Linked DNA regions of Homo sapiens: region 2 is linked to region 1. Evidence: promoter capture Hi-C in human tissues and cell types (Jung and others, 2019). All regions are on one chromosome and are shown on one strand. Each heading gives the region's core, a stretch centred on a gene start or on the middle of the fragment in contact. The rest is flanking DNA. Distances are from core to core; before and after follow the strand shown.

What was found. The method cuts DNA at HindIII sites, captures the fragments that hold promoters and counts their contacts. A contact is called where the count stands out against the background at its distance.
Region 2: a fragment that was not itself captured here is called in contact with the fragment with the promoter of CYP4A11 in region 1 in 4 of the 25 tissues and cell types used here (aorta, liver, ovary and 1 more).

What each region holds. Positions count from the first base shown.
Region 1 is chr1:46,938,121-46,944,160 of GRCh38, forward strand. CYP4A11 (cytochrome P450 family 4 subfamily A member 11) reads right to left here and starts at 3,356. Exons shown (of 12, transcript NM_000778.4): 1 at 3,119-3,356; 2 at 1-17. The coding sequence starts at 3,313. The HindIII fragment of the contact is 9,397 bases long and covers 1,807-6,040 here.
Region 2 is chr1:46,977,412-46,984,201 of GRCh38, forward strand. It overlaps a transcript of CYP4X1 not described here. Among named protein-coding and RNA genes, the nearest start is that of CYP4A11, 39 kb to the left of the region's middle. RefSeq lists an enhancer at 5,946-6,753. The HindIII fragment of the contact is 5,350 bases long and covers 1-4,978 here.

The DNA.
Region 1 (6,040 bases), core at 2,106-4,605:
TCCTGGTCCTGTTGGAGCTGTCAACAAGGGTAGACAGATGAACACTTTCATTTACTTCTAGTCTTTGCAGCAGGAGTGAAGGGCAGGACAACTACAGGAGCCATGTAGCGCAGGTTAGGGATTTAGATCTGTTTCTGATGACCTGAGCTGTGATCCAGATTCTTGCTCTCTCCCCAGGACTTGACCTTAGGCCAAGCGCTATGAGCCCTCGCTCAATGCTGCCAGCAGAAATTTAAGTCAGCCATTGTCTTCATGTTGTGTAACATCTCTGGAAGTCATAAATACAACAATTTCCATGGGCAATGTGTATAACTCATATTAGTTGATAAGTAGATTTGTAAAATCATTTAGTATATCTAGAGAATAAAATGAATTAATGTAAACATTTTAAATTACACAATGCCTTTATATAATCATACTTGTTATATTTTCAATATTATCCCAGCATATACGGTAAATATTTGTTAAGATAAAATAGCATTTGGGATGTGTATTGGTAAGCAAAAAAAGATTAACTATAAAATTGTGTGCATAATAGTATTCTACATGTTGAATATGTACAGATTTATGGGATGGAGTCTGAGTATATGCATATGGTGCTGGTGTTGGACAATAATTTTGAGATTTGGGTTTCTTATTCTCATTTTCACTTATCAACGAATTATGAGCTCCCTGCTGCCTGCAGTCATCTTTCTAAACTCTTCGATGTGGATCACAAAGCCCTTGGCTTTCTGGCTTCAACTTCTCTTTTCTTGCCTCCAGCCCTGCTGGCAATTCCACCATCACCCGTTTGTTTCAGCTCCAATGCCGATGCCACCACTGCTGCTGAATCGCACACCAGCTACACCTGCTCACTCTTCTGGGCCCTGGCACTTGCTCTTTTCTCTACCTTGAATGCCCTTCCCCTCTGCCACAGAGCAGCCACCTCTCCTCAGCTTTCAAGACTCAGCTTTGCTTTAATCTCATCTGGAACCCTCAAAGACATTGGGTCCTAGTGATGTTCCATGTAGCCAACTCTTCTTTATTTCAACTGCTTCTAGTAAATCAAAGCAACTGTCTACCACATAGGTATCGAATATCTGCCCATCTCCTTCTGATAATCATATTGTCCAGCTCTGAGGCAGCTTGCCCTACTGTGGGGTAGGCTCCTTCATTCAGCCCATGCTTACTGCACACATACTATGTGCCCAGTGTGGCTCAGGCACTGCGTTAGGATACAGCTGTGGTCCTTATCTGTGTGGAATTTTCAGTCTAGTTGGGGGGTAAGAAAGATTAGAGGCTGTGCAGTAGGGGATAATGGACATGATATGGAATGAAGGACAAGCATCTGGGGAAGCTTTGAAGAGGGACCTAACTCAGAACTGAACATTAGAAAGCTCTTCCTCACTCACTGAGTCATCATTTACTGAGGGACTATTGGGTTACAAACATAAATCAGAGATGGTCTCTCCCAGAAGAATCCCACACTTATGACACTGCAGAACAATAACTGAGTCAAGTTAACACTGCTCTGGCCTCTTGAGAAGGATAGCTCATGGAAAAAAGAGTCAGCCCTTCACTACTGGGAGACCCAGGAGGCCTTCTTGAAGGAGGTAGCTTGGTGCTGGGCCTTGACAGATAGATATGCGTGAGAAGATAATTCCAGGTAGCAAGCATAGTGTGATCAGAGACCTAAAGGTTGAAATGCAGAGGCAGGTAGTGAGGTAGTGAGTAACATATGGTAAAAGAGGAGAATGGGAAAGAAGGCAGAGTGGTATTGGGACCAGTCCATATAGGGTTAGAACTTTGGCAGGTCCCCACATTTGTTCTGCTCTGCTGAGAACTATGTTGCCTCCTTTGCTGAGAAACAATAGGCCTCAGTTCCCTGCAACCCCTATCTCTACTTAAGTGTGTTCAATTCATAGCACCTTGGTGAGTCCCTCTCCATGCAGCCGTTTACCTGCTCTGTTCCTACCCGCCCCCCTCCCCTTGTAGGGATAGCAGTGCACAGGGGATGGGCTGTGTCCCTCCTCAGCCCTCTTGCTGCTCCTTTCTCTTCTTCCTCTGTTCCTCTACACCTGGTGTGTCCAATCTTTTGGCTTTCCTAGGCCACATTGGAAGAAAAATAATTGTCTTGAGCCATGCATAAAATACACTAACACTAATGATAGCTGATGAACTCAAAAAAATTGCAAAATAATCTCATAACGTTTTAAGAAAGTTTACGAATTTGTGTTGGGCCACATTCAAAGCCATCCTGAGCTACATGCAGCCCCATGGGGCGTGGGTTGGACAAGCTTGCTCTACACACCTGAGCTGATCATCAAGCTGTGCCAGGATTTTGCTGATTGCCGGGGCACAGGAAGGGGATGACATGCTCACCGCCAGGGAGCTCACAGTCCGGGTGTGTGGGAGGAGAGCCAGGAGGTCAACACACCCTGTTCAATGTGCAACTCAAACACCAGTCTCCTCACCTGGAGAACATTGTGCAGGCTGCCCCCCTCATGTGTACCCATAATTGTCAGGTTTTCAGATCCTAAATCACCTGTTGTGGAAATTCCGTGAGTCTTGGGGAAACTTACTTAGCCAGTTGGTCCCCTATACCAGCAGATCTCTGCCTCAGATATCCACCCCAGCAGAGTGAGCTCCTTTCCTGCAGTCTGACACCTTCTCAAATTCCTGCCTGTATTCTTCACAGACCATAAACTCCTCATGGCATGGATTCCTCAGATGGGTGTCTGTGCTCCCTGGCAAACACAGGGCCAGGCAGAGTGATGGCATTGAGTGACTGGGCAGAGAGCATCTAGAAGCCTTGTTCTTTGATGAAAGCCAAGGCTTATGGGGTAATCAGTCTGGAGACAATCAGGCATTGCCCTCCACATGCAGGACTGCCAAGACACACTTGATATCTGCAGAAGGAGGGCACGGGTGATAGAGCTGAGGACCAGCAGGATGGGCTTCATGGGAGAAGTGAGCTCCTCATGACTGGGAAAAGCTGAGACCAGAGAGGTAGGCTGGGTGTTCCTTTGAGTCCTCACATTTGTTACAAAACAAGGCTTTGCTCTATGGATTTTGTGACCAGGGTCTCAGAGCCCCATCCCTCTTTGCCCTCCCACTCCCCCATTGAGTTCCTCCCTACCTCCTGGATGTGCCCGAAGAGCCAGTGGGAGGGAGGGCACGGGAACTGCTGGAGGGCTTTGAGCAGCCACTGCCTGTGCAGGTAGAGCTGAACTGCCTTGATCAGCAGCAGAAGCAGAATGAGCAGGGAGGCCGCTTGGAGGATTCCAGAGACATCACCCAGGAGTCTGCTGGGGCTCAGCACAGAGACACTCATGGTGCAGCACCTGCTGGATCTCTGAGTGCCCCTACCTCTCTCTGACCACCCCCGTCCCCCTGTGCTCAAATCCAGGGAGGATTGTCCCGCCCACTTGTGGGGAGAGTGAAGGAGGAGGGCAGAACTTGGACCTCAGAGTTCAGAATCAATTGACTATGGATGATCCACCTAGGGCAACAGTGGGAGAAAAGCTTCATCAGCTGTCTACCACATTCCCCTGTCCATGTACCTCACAAATATTTAATGAGCATTTACTGTGTGCCAGGCAGTATGCTAGGTGTGTGGGCACCGCTGCGAGGAAAACAGACTTGAATGCTGACCTCAAGGAATTTGCATTCTGCTTTACTACATTGCAATAATGTTCATTCAGTAGCACTTTTTTTTTGTTATGTGTTCAAAGAAAATTCTCAACATGATATGTACATTTAAACTTAACATTAACCAAGCCCTGAATCATTACTTTTGTCTTATTGCAAATCTAATTTTATTTACCATAAAAACCACTTCCATCTATATATTGAGTGAAGAGTGGGAATTATGTCTTTCTAGTAACTGGATGATGATATGGACAAACAGATGCTAATATAGCAGCTGTTCAAGTACTTTATTTTATTCCATTGGGGAAACTGGTCTCATAATATGCATAGCATGATTTTTTTTCTCAATTCATATACATGACAATTTAAAAAAATTCTACATCATGTTAGGTATGACTTTTTCCCCTATTGATAGGTCTACCTTTTCTACCAGAGTAAGTCCTAGAGCAATTTTAGTCCTACTTCAGTCTAGTACTATAGTCACAGCAGGAGCCTGTTTACCAATTCTCTTTCACCCTACAATAGTATGTAATTACACAATCAGAACTTTGCACTCTGTTTAGGAGTCCTGACCAAGGACAATCTGTACTAAACAGAAATTAATATTTAAAAAATGATTGCTTTGCCAACCTCAAGTAAAGTAGGTTAAATAGCAACTGTTGCTATGAATTAACCCTCCCTGGCATTTTTACATGCATATCTGTGCATGAGCATTCTTTTTTTCCTCTTTTTATAATTTCAACTTTTATTTTAGATTCAGGTACGTATGCAGGTTTTTTACACTGGTGTATTGTGTGATGCTGAGGGTTTGGATACAAATGATTCTGCCACTCAGGTAGTGAGTATGGTATATATTAGTCAAATTTCCAATGCTTACTCATATCTGTACCTACCCCTTTAGTAGTCCCCAGTGTCTATTGTTCCCATATTTATGTCCATAAGTATCCAAAATGTAGTTCCCACTTATAAGTGAGAACATGCGGTATTTGGTTTTCTGTTGCTGTGTTAATTTGCTTAGGATTATTGCCTCCCAATTCATCCATGTTGCTGCAAAGAACATGATTTCTTTATTTTTTTATAGCTGTCTAGTATTCCACTGTGTATATGTATCACATTTTCTTTATCCAGTCCACCATTGATGGGCACCAAGGTTGATGCCATGTCTTTGCTATTGCGAATAGTGCTGTGATGAATGTATGAGTAGAGGTGTCTTTTTGGTAGAGCAACTTATTTTCTTTTTGATATATAGCTAATATTGGGATTGCTGGGTCAAATAGTAGTTCTATTTTAAGTTCTTTGAGAAATCTCCAAACTGCTTTCCACAGTGGCGGAACTAATTTACATTTCCACAAACAATGTATACACATTATGTTTTTTTTCTGCAGCTTAGCCAGCATATGTTGCTTTGAAACTTTTTAATAATAGCCATTCTGACTTGTGTGAGATGTGGTTTTGATTCACATTTCTCATTAGTGATGTTGAGCATTTTTAAAAATATTTTTTGGCTGCTCATATGTCTTCTTTAGAGAAGTGTCTGTGTCTTTAATGGGGTTGTTTGTTTTTCGCTTGTATTGGAAGTTCTGGCCAGGTAAGAGAAAGAAGTAAAGGGTATTCAAATAGGAAGAGAGGAAGTCAAATTGTCTCTGTTTGCAGATGACATGACTGTATATTTAGAAAACCCCATCATCTCAGTCCAAAATCTCCCTAAGCTGATAAGCAACTTCAGCAAAGTCTCAGGATACAAAATCAATGTGCAAAAATCACAAGCATTCCTACACACCAATAATAGAGAAACAGAAAGCCAAATCATGAGTGAACTCCCATTCACAATTGCTACAAAGAAAATAAAATACCTAGGAATACTGCTTACAAGGGATGTGAAGGACCTCTACAAGGAGAACTACAAGCCACTGCTCAACAAAATGAAAGAGGACACAAAGAAATGGAAAAAAATTCCATGCTCATGGATAGGAAGAAACAATATAGTAAAAATGGCCGTACTGCCCAAAGTAATTTATAGATTCAATGCTATTCCCATCAAGCTACCATTGACTTTCTTCACAGAATTAGAAAAAACTACTTTAAATTTCATATGGAATAAAAAAAGAGCCCCCATTGCCAAGGCAATCCTAAGCAGAAAGAACAAAGCTGGAGGCATCATGCTACCTGACTTCAAACTACACTACAAGGCTACAGTACCCAAAACAGCATGGTGCTGGTACCAAAACAGATATACAGACCAATGGAACAGAACAGAGGCCTCAGAAATAACACCACTTATCTACAATTATCTGATCTTTGATAAACCTGACAAAAACAAGCAATGGGGAAAGGGTTCCCTATTTAATATATGGTGTTGGGAAAACTGGCTAGCCATATGCAGAAAACTGAAACTGGACCCTTCCTTAAA
Region 2 (6,790 bases), core at 1,054-3,553, 38 kb after region 1:
GAGAAGTTTAGAGAAAAAGGAGTAAAAAGAAATGAACAAAGCCTCCAAGAAATATGGGACTATGTGAAAAGATCAAATCTACATCAGATTGGTGTACTCGAAAGTGACCGAGAGAATGGAGCCAAGTTGGAAAACACTCTTCAGGATATTATGTAGGAGAACTTCCCCAACCTAGCAAGGTAGGCCAACATCCAAATTCAGGAAATACAGAGACCAACAAAAAGATACTCCACGACAAGAGCACCCCCAAGACACATAATTGTCAGATTCACCAAGGTTGAAATGAGGGAAAAAATGTTAAGACAGCCAGAGAGAACGGTCGGGTTACCAATAAAGGGAAGCCCATCAGACTAACAGCTGATCTCTCGGCACAAACTCTACAAGCCAGGAAAGAGTGGGGGTCAATATTCAACATTCTTAAAAAAAAGAATTTTCAACCCAGAATTTCATATCCAGCCAAACTAAGCTTCATAAGAGAAGGAGAAATAAAATACTTTACAGACAAGCAAATGCTGAGAGATTTTGTCACCACCAGGACTGCCTTACAAGAGCTCCTGAAGGAAGCACTAAAGATGGAAAGGAACAACCAGTACCAGCCACTGCAAAAACATGCCAGATTGTAAAGACCATCAATGCTAGGAAGAAACTGCATCAACTAATGAGCAAAATAACCAGCTAACATCATAATGACAGGATCAAATTCATGCATAACAATATTAACCTTAAATGTAAATGGGCTAAATGCTCCAATTAAAAGACACAGACTGGCAAATTGGATAAAGAGTCAAGACCCATCAGTGTGCTGTATTGAGGAGACCCATCTCATGTGCAGCAACACACAAAGGCTCAAAATAAAGGGATGGAGGAAGTTCTGCCAAGCAAATGGAAAGCAAAAAAAAGGCAGGGGTTGCAATCCTAGTCTCTGAAAAAACAGACTTCAAACCAACAAAGATCAAAAGATACAAAGAAGACCATTACAACAATGGTAAAGGGATCAATTCAACAAGAAGAGCTAACTATTCTAAACATATATGCACCCAATACAGGAGCACCCAGATTCATAAAGCAAGTCCTTAGAGACCTACAAAGAGACTTAGACTCCCACACAATAATGGGAGACTTTAACACCCCACTGTCAATATTAGATGTATCAATGAGACAGAAGGTTAACAAGGATATCCAGGACTTAAACTCAGCTCTGCACCACGCAGACCTAATAGACATCTACAGAACTCTCCACCCCAAATCAATAGAATATACATTCTTCTCAGGACCACATCATATTTATTCCAAAATTGACCACATAGTTGGAAGTGAAGCACCCCTTAGCAAATGTAAAAGAACAGAAATTACCACAAATTGTCTCTCAGACCACAGTGCAATCAAATTAGAGCTCAGGATTAAGAAACTCACTCAAAACTGCACAACTACATGGAAATTGAACAACCTGTTCCTGAATGACTACTGGGTACATAACGAAATGAAGGCAGAAATAAAGATGTTCTTTGAAACCAGTGAGAACAAAGACACAACATACCAGAATCTCTGGGACACATTTAAAGGAGGGTGTAGAGGGAAATTTATAGCACTAAATGCCCACAAGAGAAACCAGGAAAGATCTAAAATCAATCTCCTAACATCACAATTAAAAGAACTAGAGAAGCAAGAGCAAACACATTCAAAAGCTAGCAGAAGGCAAGAAATAACTAAGATCAGAGCAGAACTGAAGGAGATAGAGACACAAAAACCCCTTCAAAAAATCAAGGAATCCAGGAGCTGGTTTTTTGAAAAGATCAACAAAATTGATAGACCACTAGCAAGACTAATAAAGAAGAAAAGAGAGAAGAATCAAATAGACGCAATAAAAAATGATAAAGGGGATATCACCGCTGATCCCACAGAAATACAAACTACCGTCAGAGAATACTATACACATCTCTATGCAAATAAATTACAAAACCTAGAAGACATGGATAAATTCCTGGAGACATACACCCTCCCACGACTAAACCAGAAAGAAGTTGAATCACTGAATAGACCCATAACAGGTTCTGAAATTGAGGCAATAATTACTGGCCTACCAACCAAAAAGAGTCCACAACCAGACAGATTCACAGCCGAATTCTACCAGAGGTACAAAGAGGAGCTGGTACTGTTCCTTCTGAAACTATTCCAATCAATACAAAAAAGAGGGAATCCTCCCTAACTGATTTTATGAGGCCAGCATCATCCTGATACCAAAGCCTGGCAGAGACACAATAAAAAAAGAGAATTTTAGACCAACATCCCTGATGAACATCGATGCGAAAATCCTCAATAATATACTGGCAAACCGAATCCAGCAGCACATCAAAAAGCTTATCCACCAAGATGAAGTTGGCTTCATTCCTGGAATGCAAGGCTGGTTGAACATATGCAAATCAATAAACTTAATCCATCACATAAACAGAACCAATGACAAAAACCACATGATTATCTCAATAGATGCAGAAAAGGCCTTCAACAAAATTCAAGAACTCTTCATGCTAAAAACTCTCAATAAATTAGGTATTGATGGAACATATCTCAAAATAATAAGAGCTATTTATGACAAACCCACAGCCAATATCATACTGAATGGGCAAAACTGGAAGCATTCCCTTTGAAAACTGGCACAAGACAGGGGTGCCCTCTCTCACCACCCCTATTCAACATAGTGTTGGAAGTTCTGGCCAGGACCATCAGGCAAGAGAAAAAAAGAAAGTGTATTCAGTTAGGAAAAGATGAAGTCAAATTGTCCCTGTTTGCAGTTGACATGATTTTATATTTAGAAAACACCATCATCTCAGCCCAAAATTTCCTTAAGCTGATAAGTAACTTCAGCAAAGTCTCAGGATACAAAATCAATGTGCAAAAATCACAAGCATTCTTATACACCAATAACAGACAAACAGAGAGGCAAATCATGAATGAACTCCCATTCACAATTGCTACAAAGAGAATAAAATACCTAGGAATCCAACTTACAAGGGATGTGAAGGACCTCTTCAAGGAGAACTACAAACCACTGCTCAATGAAATAAAAGAGGACACAAACAAATGGAAGAGCATTCCATGCTCATGGATAGGAAAAATCAATATCGTGAAAATGGCCATACTGCCCAAGGTGTAATTTATAGATTCAATGCCATCCCCATCAAGCTACCAATGACTTTCTTCACAGAATTAGAAAAAGCTACTTTAAAGTTCATATGGAACCAAAAAAGAGCCCATATTGCCAAGACAATACTTAGCAAAAAGAACAAAGCTGGAGACATCATACTACCTGACTTCAAACTATACTACAAGGCTACAGTAAACAAAACAGCATGGTACTGGTACCAAAACAGAGATATAGATCAATGGAACAGAACAGAGGCCTCAGAAATAACACCACACATCTACACCATCTGATCTTTGCCAAACCTGACAAAAGCAAGAAATGGGGAAAGGATTCCCTATTTAAAAATAAATGGTGCTGGGAAAACTGCCTAGCCATATGTAGAAAGCTGAAACTGGATCCCTTCCTTGCACCTTATACAAAATTTAATTCAAGATGGATTAAAGACTTAAATATTAGACCTAAAACCATAAAAACCTTAGAAGAAAACCTAGGCAATACCATTCAGAACATAGGCACGGGTAAGGACTTCATGACTAAAACACCAAAAGCAATGGCAACAGAAGCCAAAATTGACAAATGGGATCTAATTAAACTAAAGAGCTTCTGCACAGCAAAAGAAACTACCATCAGAGTGAACAGGCCACCTACAGAATGGGAGAAAATTTTTGCAATCTACCCATCTAACAAGGGCTAATATCCAGAATCTACAAAGAACATAAACAAATTTACAAGAAAAAAATCAGACACTCCATCAAAAAGTGGGCAAAGGATATGAACAGACACTTCTCAAAAGAAGACATTTATGCAGCCAAAAGACACATGAAAAAAAGCTCATCATCACTGGTCATCAGAGAAATGCAAATCAAAACCACAATGAGATACCATCTCACACCAGTTAGAATGGCGATCATTAAAAAGTCAGGAAACAACAGGTGCTGGAGAGGATGTGGAGAAATAGGAACACTTTTACACTGTTGGTGGGAGTGTAAACTAGTTCAACCATTGTGAAAGACAGTGTGGTGATTCCTCAAGGATCTAGAACTAGAAATACCATTTGACCCAGCCATCTCATTACTGGGTATATACCCAAAGGATTATAAATCATGCTACTATAAAGACACATGCACATGTATGTTTATTGCGGCACTATTCACAGTAGCAAAGACTTGGAACCAACACAAATGTCCATCAGTGATAGACTGGATTAAGAAAATGTGGCATATATACACCATGGAATACTATGCAGCTTTAAACAAGGATAAGTTAATGTCCTTTGTATGGACATAGATGAAGCTGGCAACCATCATTCTGCGCAAACTATCACAAGGACAGAAAACCAAACACCACTTGTTCTCACTCATAGGTGGGAATTGAACTATGAGAACACTTGGACACAGGGTGGGGAACATCACACACCAGGGCCTGTCATAGATGGGGAGATGGGGGAGGGATAGCATTAGGAGAAATACCTAATGTAAATGACAAGTTACTGGGTGCAGCAAATCAACATGGCACATGTATACATATGTAACAAACCTGAACTTTGTGCACATGTACCCTAGAACTTAAAATATAATAAAAAAAGAAAAAAATCCATTTGTGTAATAATAAAATTATTGTACTATGTTTTTTCAGCTCTATTAGCTCAGTTTGGTTCTTTCTTAAAATGCCTATTTTATCTTTCATCTCTTGAATCATTTTACTGAATTCCTTTGATTCCTTGGAATGAGTTTCAACTTTCTCCTGAATCTCGATATTTGATAACATCCAGGTTTTGAATTCCGTGTCTGTCATCTCAGCCATTTCTTTCTGTCATCTCAGCCATTTCTTTCTAGTTAAGAACCATTGCTGGGGAGTTAGCATGGTCATTTGGATGTAGCGAGACACTCTGGCTTCTAGAATTGCCAGAGTTCTTGCGTTGGTTCTTTCTCATCTTGTGTGGGCTGATGTTCTTTTAACTGTGGAGTAGTGTAGTCAATTGGCTTTGTTTCTGGATGTTTTCAGAGGGCTGAGGCTTTGGGCAGGCTTTTTATTTGTGGCAGGATTCTTGTCCTTGATTTCACAGGGAGTTATATTAAGAAAGTATATTTGGTGTTGAAGTTAGGGCTGCGTTCCAGTAATGACACTTAAGCATAATGGCCAGTAGGTAGGCTCTTGCTCAGCCATGTGGCTCCTATATATTTCCTCACATCTGCAGCTGTGCTCCTTCTCAGTGCTCTGAGCATGTGGGCTTCTGTCCCACTCAGGTGCTGGCTGTAGATCTCAGCTTGGCACTCCTGGGCTGCACACTACAATCCTGGAGTGAGCTCAGGCTTTTTGTTACCTCCCCATCTTGGGGACAGCAGTGATGGGGACGTTGGCAGTGGCAATGGCAAAGGACTTTTAACTGGTCTCTGGGGCTTCATCCTACAGAATTGCATAGCTGCTGCCAATCAGAATGATCAGCCCAAGGTGGGGTGGTTGTGTTGCAGGTCCAAGCCTGGGGGCCCTGCCTGGGGACACGTGGTGGGGTGGGGAGCTTGTGGGAAAGGCCGTCTGGCCTTTTCTCTATAGGGTGGCTATGGTGTGCTGGAAGTGCAAGTAAAGCACTCAGGCTCTTTGTTCCTTCCCCAGCCTGGTGGCAGCAAGGGTGGGTATTGCTGCAGTGGCAGAGGGCATGTCTGTTGCCTCTGGCAACTCCACCACAGAGAGACATAGAGCCGGTGCCTATGGAAGCATTCAGCAGGGGATGGGGTGGCTGCATTGTGGATGCTAGCCAAGGCCATATCTGGTGAAGAGCAGGGAATTGGGAGCTCACAGGGAAGAGAGACTGGGCTCCTTTTCATCTAGCCATTGTGCCATGTTAGAGTTGCCAGCAAAATGATCAGGGTCTTTGTTTCTTTCCCAGCCAGAGGACAGCAAGGGCAGTTCCACTGCAGCTGCAATGGCAGAGAGCCTGTGGATTGTCTCTGGGATTTCCTCCCTACAGAAATGCAGAGCCGCCACTGACTGAAGTGCTCAGGTGGGGGCAGGGCGGCTGTGCTGGAGACCCAGGTCGGGAAAACCTGCCCAGTGATGAGTAGCAGAGGCAGGGACGTGCATGGAAAACAGTCTGGGCACATTTCTGTAAGGCAGTTGCAGTGTTCTCAAGGCCCGTGATAGTCCTTAGGCTTCTTGCTTCCTCCCAGCCTGAGGGCAGTAGAGGTGGGAGCTACAGCAGTGGCAAAAATGGTGGGCATGTCCATTACCTCTGGGAGCTCCAGCCCAGATAATACAGAGCTGCCACTGGTCCGAGTGCTGTGGTGGGGAGTGGGGTGGCTTCACTGGGGTCCCAGGTCAGTGGGCTTTATTTGGCAAGGTATAGTGGATGCTATGCCTGCAGTCTGTTCACCCCTCAGCATCATTGGTACAGCCCCTATCCTGAGGGCATGCAAGAGAGCCAGGCCTCCCTTGTTGGCAGAGCTACAGCAGCTGGTGCAGGAGTGCTCAGGAGTACAAGGCCCTTGGGGCTCCATGTGGGCCTGAGCAGCAGCTCTGCCGAGCAGCTCTGGTGTCAGTCTGGAGGCCCAGGGGAGAGAAAGTTGGTGGGGGAGGGCGGGGAGGGTGTGTGGAATTTCCTGAGCCCAGGTTTGCAAACGTCTAAGGCAGAAATGTGAGTCCTGGGGGCTC